3 separate regions of the Homo sapiens genome follow, and regions 1 and 3 are each linked to region 2. Evidence: promoter capture Hi-C in human tissues and cell types (Jung and others, 2019). All regions are on one chromosome and are shown on one strand. The core of a region is centred on a gene start or on the middle of the fragment in contact, and the rest is flanking DNA. Distances in the headings are between cores, read along the strand shown.

What was found. Contacts are between HindIII fragments. The study calls those that stand out against the background at their distance.
Region 1: a contact is called between a fragment that was not itself captured here and the fragment with the promoter of ZSCAN25 in region 2, in 1 of the 25 tissues and cell types used here (aorta).
Region 3: a contact is called between a fragment that was not itself captured here and the fragment with the promoter of ZSCAN25 in region 2, in 1 of the 25 tissues and cell types used here (lymphoblastoid cells).

Annotation. Positions count from the first base shown.
Region 1 is chr7:99,749,247-99,751,946 of GRCh38, reverse strand. It overlaps the pseudogene CYP3AP2. Among named protein-coding and RNA genes, the nearest start is that of CYP3A4-AS1, 13 kb to the left of the region's middle. The HindIII fragment of the contact is 4,835 bases long and covers 1-2,700 here.
Region 2 is chr7:99,615,671-99,618,370 of GRCh38, reverse strand. It overlaps ZSCAN25 (zinc finger and SCAN domain containing 25), which reads right to left and starts at 1,425. Exons shown (of 8, transcript NM_145115.3): 1 at 1,355-1,425. RefSeq lists enhancers at 1,390-1,709, 1,300-2,279. The HindIII fragment of the contact is 7,246 bases long and covers 1-1,611 here.
Region 3 is chr7:99,790,370-99,793,069 of GRCh38, reverse strand. No RefSeq gene overlaps it. Among named protein-coding and RNA genes, the nearest start is that of CYP3A4, 7.5 kb to the right of the region's middle. RefSeq lists enhancers at 1-62, 1,167-1,181, 1,064-2,700, a cis regulatory region at 1,610-1,630 and a promoter at 1-2,700. The HindIII fragment of the contact is 3,979 bases long and covers 1-2,700 here.

The sequences.
Region 1 (2,700 bases), core at 19-2,518, 130 kb before region 2:
CTGGTGGTTCCTGCTCCCCCAACTTCCACCCCAGGATATCATTTACATAACGCACCGGGGAACACCAAGACTTCACGGGAAGCTGTCCCCCGGCTCTTCCCTCTTTCCTGTGCCATGTCCCAAAACATCCCCTCCCACCTATGACTCACTCCTCCACCCTGTCATACACAGAACTATTTACCTTGCAATGATTAATCTCCAGAGCAAAGGAGACTTGGAGGAAGTTTTGAAGATTTATTCTTTGCTTTAATCTTTTTCCTCCCGTCTCTGGGAGGCTAGCATTAATATAGAGCTTTGTTTCTCACCTAATGGGAATCTGCTAGCAGCCTGAAAAGGCAGGAGCTGTGAAAGCCAATTTGGATTTTACACATTTTTTCCCCTTTGTGTTACAGTAAAGGAGGATGAACCCTCTCACTGGTGGGATTCCTGGCATCCTAGAGCAGGTGGAGAGAAGAGTTACTTCCCACTGTGGGTAGTGGAGGCTCCACCTGTTCCATTAACTTCTACCTCAATTTGACTTTTATTAAGAGCAGGGAACCACAATGACATGAAAATAGACACTATAAAACTAATTTTAATTCTTTCACAGAAAGCTTAGGAATTCAGTGAATAGTGGCAACATAGTTTCCATTTTCTAACATTTTAAAATAAATTGATATGGTTTAAATTCATTCATTTTTAAACCAGAATTTTTTGGAGATAGACTATTTCCAGCATGTTCCTTCTGGATGATAAAAGAGGGCTGTTAGTTCAGTATTTGTGACAATAAATGTGTGTAAAATAACATCACCTTTCCAGAATAATATCAGGAATATGAGTCTAATACATGAATGTATATCTCTAAGACAAGACTGCATATGTCTTTTTAAATATACATGCCTGACAGTTTATTGTAATACCTCCTTTTTGAATATACCTGCTTAGCAGGCTACCTTAAACTCTCAGGCAGGGGAGTAAGCAATACTGTGAGCTAGTGATGATAGCAAAGGCATCCAGATAGGATCTGCATGAAGTGAGAAAATATTCCTCAGCTCTCAGGGTAGAACTCCAAAGAGATATTCATGGGTCCTGGCCCCACAGTGGAGGTCACTCAAAGGGCAAACAGATTGGCATCTCATCTGCTTCAAGCCTGGATACAGGGACATCAAATGTGTCACTCTGTGTGTGGTCTGCCATGTTGTGGGGAGGCCACTACAGACTCGGGCAGCTGGGCAGACAATACCTTAGCCTTAGACGATGCTAGTGTAGCCCAGGAATCAGAAACTATAGTGTAGACCGTGCCCTCCTTAGGCCAACACAATTACATGCAATAGATGACGGGCTTTTCTGTTAGCCTCTTCATTGGAACTGAAAGTGGCATTACTCTACCAAACAGAGGAGAGCTGGAAAGAAACTAAACAGTTTGCCCAGCACAGCCTCTGCCTTGACATGGAACCATGTGAGTCTAGACACTCACCTAGATCTTTCCCTGGGGGCCAATGCTGCTGACACATTAACTCATTAGTTTGTCCTGGCCTGAGAGATCATGTAACATGTAGAAGGTTTAGAAGCAGAGATTAGTGTCATTAATTTGCCATGGCTGTGACAACAAAGGAAGAAACTGGGGTGGGAAACCCCAAGGCCACCCTGGTTTTGGTAGATGGTGCACACACTTCCACTAACTATTCTGGGGCAAGGATCCAAATGCACTATATGCTGCCTCTGCTGGGATCTCCAAACACGACCCTCCATGCCATTTCTCAGTTGTATTTTACCACATATTATCAGAGTCACTGGATTTGTACAGAATGTTTGGAACCTATACTGCCTTAAGTGCTACCTGTTATAGAAGAGAAAACAAGGTCTTAATTCAACTATCTGGAACATTTTATGGTTACTTATGTAAAATACTGCATCTTTTGCTATCAACAGGAAGGTACATGGACATTAGAAGGCCCCTGCCTTTCAGCTGAAAGCACATATGAGGCATATGGATCCATTTATATACACCATACTTTTCAGCTGCATTTTCCTAATTTGCCTCTCTGGGGCCAACCTTGTGGGACTAGCAGATTCACGGTTGAATTGATGGCTGGTGATGTCTGCCATCAGCCTTTCTTCTTCCTCTAGTCCTCCGCTCCTCAGTAACATCAGACTGGGAAGGTCTTCAGACATCCAGAACCCCCAGTTGGGGGAGTCCATACATGACCCATCAAAGATGAGTTGCAAGCAGGCCTGCCATAAAGAGCAGCAGCCTTAATGGGTTTTCCTACAGAGATAGTCAATGTACAGAGGCAATAAACTGACTGCTTTGTGATTGATCACCTTGAAAAAATGAGCATGTCTGGATATATTAGTCATTTCTTGCATTGCTGTAAAGAAATACCTGAGGCTGGGTAATTTATAAAGAAAAGAGATTTAATTGGCTCATAGTTCTGCAGGCTCTACAGGAAGCATAGCGACTTCTGCCTCTAGGGAGGCCTCAGGAAATTTACAATCATGGCAGAAGGTGAAGGAGGAGCAGGCGGATCTTACATGGCTGTAGTAGAAGCAAGAGAGGGTGGGGAGGAGGAGCCACACACTTATAAACCACCAGATCTCATAAAAACTCATTGTCACGAGGACAACAGCGAAGGCAGGATGGTGTGAAACCATGAGAAACTGCCCCTAGGATCCAATCACCTCCTATCAGGCCCCACCTCCAGCATTTGGGGTTACATT
Region 2 (2,700 bases), core at 176-2,675:
CTCAGAAGAAAAAAAAGAGACTAGATGATAACTGCCTCCCAAAATACATGGTACAGATTGAAAAAAAAATGTGAAGTCAAAAAGAGAGAAAACTAATCTAAGTCCAAGTACTCAAGGAAAAGAAGAGGCTTGAAGTAGACTGGAGAATGAGTCCTATTTACCTCCAAGTGGATTATGCGGAAGACCTAGACTGGGAAGACAGACTTGGAAGTCCAAAGCACCAGGGGAAGGAGATCCTGCTTGTCAGAAAACGGAAAGATCACCTGACTGGAGCAGAGAATGGGCAGCTGGCAGGAGGCACACCCCAAAGCTTCTGCTAAATATTCTATTGTGAGTTTGTGTATTTATCTACCCCCACTTAAACCAAGTTTATATTTTCAGTCTATTCATTGACTCTGCAACATTGAGATTTCTCTTTCATTCCTTTCTAGCTATTGCATTGGTTCACTCCACTAGTGCATTTAATGCACTACAGTGCAAATGTTTACCCATGTGTCTCCCTCTAACAGATTCCCTGGAGGCAAGAAAGATCCTCATTCATCTTTTATCTCTGCCATTTGACAAATAGAAATTGCCCCATTGCTATTCTTTATCTCCCCCCACCCATTGTGACTCTTTTGTTTTGTTTCTGAGACAGGATCTCAGGGTTTTATCACCCCAGCTGGAGACCAGTGGTGCGATCACTGCAGCCTTTGCCTCCTAGGATCAAGCGATCCTCCCACCTCAGCCTCCCGAGTAGCTGGGACTACTGGCGAGTGCCACCATGACCAGCTAATTATTTATTTTTGTAGAGACAGGGTCTCCCCATGTTGCCCAGGCTGGAGTGCAGCGGCATGAATGTAAGTCAGTGCAACCTTGAACTCCTGGGCTCAGGCGATCCTCCTGCCTCAGCCTCCCGAGTAGCTGGGACCTCAGGCGCGTGCCACCACGCCCGGCTACTTTTCAATTTTTGTAGAGACAGGGTCTCGCTATGTTGACCAGGCTGGCTCATCACTATTCTTTAAATAAGTGTCCTATGTGATTACTTTCACTTTGCACAGAGTTCTGCTTTGGTTCAAGATCTCTTCGGGTTCGTGGCCAGCCCTGCACTAAGCCAAGCCTGGCAGAGCGGGATCAGCCTCGCTCCTACCTGAGCCTACAGCGCGGCGGCCCCTCAGCGTCCAGACCCGCAGGGCCTCGGGGCCGCTGAAGGCAGCTCCTGAGAGACTTGCCGCCCTCAGCCGGGGCTGAGCGGAGGGAGACGGGCTCTACTGCAACCCCGCTGCCGCCGAGCCCCGTAGCGGCACCAAAACCCGTCCCCGCGCCCGTTTACCACTTCGCCCGCCACCCGCTGCGGCCCTGAAGAGGCTCTCACCCGCCGCGGCCCTGAAGGGCCTCTCACCCGCTAGGGTCGCCAGTGCTATCCGCGGTCCGGAAGTGAGCTGCGGACGCTGTTAGACAGGTGCGTAAGGAAAGACTCGCTTCCGTGTCCTCTCTAGGATGCTCGGAGGTCTCGGCGGATGCGTCTCGATGGTTGCTGATCCCAGCCTGCTGTTCCGAACCCGGCGAGGCGAAGACCACCAGGGCTTCCCCAGGATTGACTGCCCAGCTCGAGGCGCTCTGTGGCTAGGCCCCTTCCACTTCCGTGCCATTTCACCTGCTTGCCCTCCGTGGAAAGGACTCGGTGCATCGCCAGATACACTACTGGACACAGCACCTGCCCCAAGGGGCTTTAGAGTCCAGTCGGTCAATGCGCGACTATTCCGGCTGCGAGGGCCTTGCGCGAGGCGTAGGGGCAGAGGAGATAGGGGGCGCACTGGATCTAACCGGCTCACTTAAGAGGCTCCTGACCCCGGGTAGTGTGCGTGCGTGTGTGTATGTGTAGTCAGGGAAGGCTTCCTGGAGGAGCCAGCATCGGAGCTGTTTTTTGTGGGGGGTTTTTGTTTGTTTGTTTGTTTGTGTTTTTTGAGAAAGAGAGAGAGAAGTCTTGTTCTGTCTCCCAGGATGGAGTGCAGTGGTGAGATCATAGCTCACTGCAACCTCGAAGCCCTGAGTTCAAGCAATCCTCCCACCTCAGTCTCCTGGGTAGCTGGGACTTTTTTTCAATTTTTTGCAGAGAGGGGGATCTCTCTATGTTGCCCAATCTGGTCTCCAACTTCTGGACTCAAGCGATCTTCCCCCCTTGGCCTCCCAAAGTGCTAGGACTGCAGGCGCAAGCCACCGCGTCCAGCCTGAAGGCAGTCTGTCTCAACTGGGTGGCCCAGTGTTACTCCAGAATCCACTCAGGAAACAGGAAACCCTCTTGTCTTACTCTTCTCCAGCACTTTGCAAAGTGTCTGGTACAATATTTGCTAAAAATATACACTTATAGAGTAAATGAACTCCTAGAATATAACATAGGTGTTAGACCATCTCACTTTATCCTCCATGTCTCTGTCCCACTTTCATATTTTTCTTGTCTGCCCATATTTGACTTGGGTTTATGTCTTCACCTTTTTATTAATAATCCACTTTTCAGCTGTTTCTAATGTGCTACAAAATCCACAGTTGTTGTTTTTTTGTTTTGTTTTGTTTTGTTTTTTAAGAGACGAGGTCTTGCTGTGTCACCTAGGCTGGAGTACAGCGGTGCTATCATAGCTCACTACAGCTTCCAACTCCTGGGTTCAAGCAATCCACCTCAGCTTCCCAAATAGCTGGGACTACAGGCATGAGCCACCACAC
Region 3 (2,700 bases), core at 105-2,604, 170 kb before region 2:
GCTGGGCCTTTCTCTCTTTGCCAGTTAAATTATATTTATTATAGCTTGACATGAAAAACAAAGCAACTCCAACAGGTATCACAAGGGCAAAGGACATGAACATTTTATCAAAGAAGAAATGCAGCTGTCAAAAATACAGAAATATTCAACCTTGTTCATAATAAAGTGGCTGGGCTCAGTGGTTCATGCCTGTAATCCCAGTGCTTTGCAAGGCTGAGACAGGAGGATCATTTGAAGCCAGAAGTTCAAGACCATCCTAGGCAAGTCAGTTCAATACCAGACTTCATGTCTACAAAACATCAAAAAATTAGCCAGGCATGGTGATGCATGCCTGTTGTCCCAGCTACTCAGGAGGCTGAGGCAGGAGAATTGCTTGAGCCTGGGAGGCTGCGGTGGCGGTGAGCCATGATTGTGCCATTGTACTCCAGCCTGGGCAATGCAGCAAGACTGTCTAAATAACAAAAATAATAGTAAAGAAAAGGATTGGGATGCCATTTCTTGCGTATTCAATACACAGAGTTAAAAGTAATTTCTACGTTTTCTATTTTTTTATTACTAAAAAAAGCTGGACCATTCTCACAGCCTGAAATGCTTCTCACTTTCCCTTCTTCTGTCCAAACACTTCTCTATGATAATGCAAACAGTCACTCCTTTAGGAAGACTTCACCCCAGGTAGTTCCAGATCCCCTTATCTCTGCCTTCCCAGAACTCCTGGTGTCTCTCCAGTTCCCTCCGTGTGGTGAAGTACCCTACCTAGGGTTTCAGTATGGCTCTGTCTGCAAAGGTCTTGTTCACACCTTCCCTTATGGTTCTGTTGCCCTGTGTTGTGTCATAGCACAGGGCACAGTGGAGAACCCATTCACACTGATAGAGAGGGCCCCATGGTCCTGGAGATAACCATGTAACCGATCAGAATAGGGCATTGAGGGCTGGGTGTCAGGCGTGGGCTGCACTTGGGTGGGCAGGTCCCCTGGAAAGTCACTGGGTTTGGCAAGCTTCCTAGTAACATGTCTCTCTGGGGTCCCCTTGGAACTTCATGCAAAAATGCTGGTTGCTGGTTTATTCTAGAGAGATGGTTCATTCCTTTCATTTGATTATCAAAGAAACTCATGTCCCAATTAAAGGTCATAAAGCCCAGTTTGTAAACTGAGATGATCTCAGCTGAATGAACTTGCTGACCCTCTGCTTTCCTCCAGCCTCTCGGTGCCCTTGAAATCATGTCGGTTCAAGCAGCCTCATGAGGCATTACAAAGTTTAATTATTTCAGTGATTATTAAACCTTGTCCTGTGTTGACCCCAGGTGAATCACAAGCTGAACTTCTGACAAGAACAAGCTATCATATTCTTTTCAATTACAGAAAAAAGTAAGTTAATTGATAGGATTTTTTTTGTTTAAAAAAAATGTTACTAGTTTTGAAAAGGTAATATGTGCACATGGTAAACACTAAGAAGGTATAAGAGCATAATGCTTTTATACTACTAAGAATAATGTTTTCTCTAAGTTTTTTTTGGTAGATGCTTTCATCAGATTAAGAAAATTCCCTGCTATTAGTTGTTGAAGGTTTTTATATCATAAATGAAAGTTGAATATTATTATCATATATTATTAATATATTGTTATTGAACTATCAAAGCCTTTTCCTAAAACCATTGAGATGATCTTATAACCATTCTCCTTTAACCTGTTGACGATATCATTGGTATTTATACTATTTCTCTGTTAACCATTCTTGAGTCTCAGGTTTAAATTCAACTTGGTCATGGTGTGTCATCTTTGATCATTGCTGTCTGTGGCTTGCTACTGTTTTGTTTAGGATTTTTGCACTGATGCTCATCAATGAGACTGGCATGCCATCTTCCTTTGCAGTCCTGATTTTTTTCTGATTTGGATCATGTGGTTATGGCCCTCATGGAATGAGTTGGGCATGATGCCTTTTTTTCATGTCTCTGGATTGATGGGACACTTTGGATTCTCTCCAGATGGCCCTCAATGGTCCCTGCCTCCTCATTGTTAGGCCCCTGGGCAAGCCCTTCTCATTTCTGGTAGGCCCAGGAACCTGTGGGGGTTTTGTTTGTTTGTTTGTTTCTTGAGTCGGAGTCTCACTCTGTCACCCAGGCTGGAGTTGGAGTGCAATGGCCCGATCTTGGCTCACTGCAACCTCCACCTCCCAGATTCAAGCAATTCTCCTGCCTCAGCCTCCTGAGTAGCTGGGATTACAGGCACCCACCGACACACCCTGCTAATTTTTGTATTTTTAGTACAGATGGGGTTTCACAATATTGGCCAAGCTGGTCTCGAACTCCTGATCTCATGATCTGCCCGGCTTGGCCTCCCAAAGTGTTGAGATTACAAGCATGAGCCACCACACCCAGTGAACCTGTGGTTTTTAGAAGCTCCCCATGCATGTGAATGCTGTGAGCATCCCAGGATGACAGCCACTGTGTGTTCAGCTGTTGGAACTGTGAGAAAGCACCAGTGGGACCCTCTCCAGCACCTGCCTGCTGAGGTCATGGAAGAGGCTTGTTGGGGAGATGATGCCCTGGCTGACTCCTGAAGGATGGTTAGGAATGCACCAGATGGAAGCTGGGTTGGACCCACTCTATGCTGAAGAACAGCTTGTGTGGACACAAGGAGACACGGATATGTCATTTTTGTAGAGCCTGAGGAGTGTCCAGTCACACCATTTGCTTAAAACATCA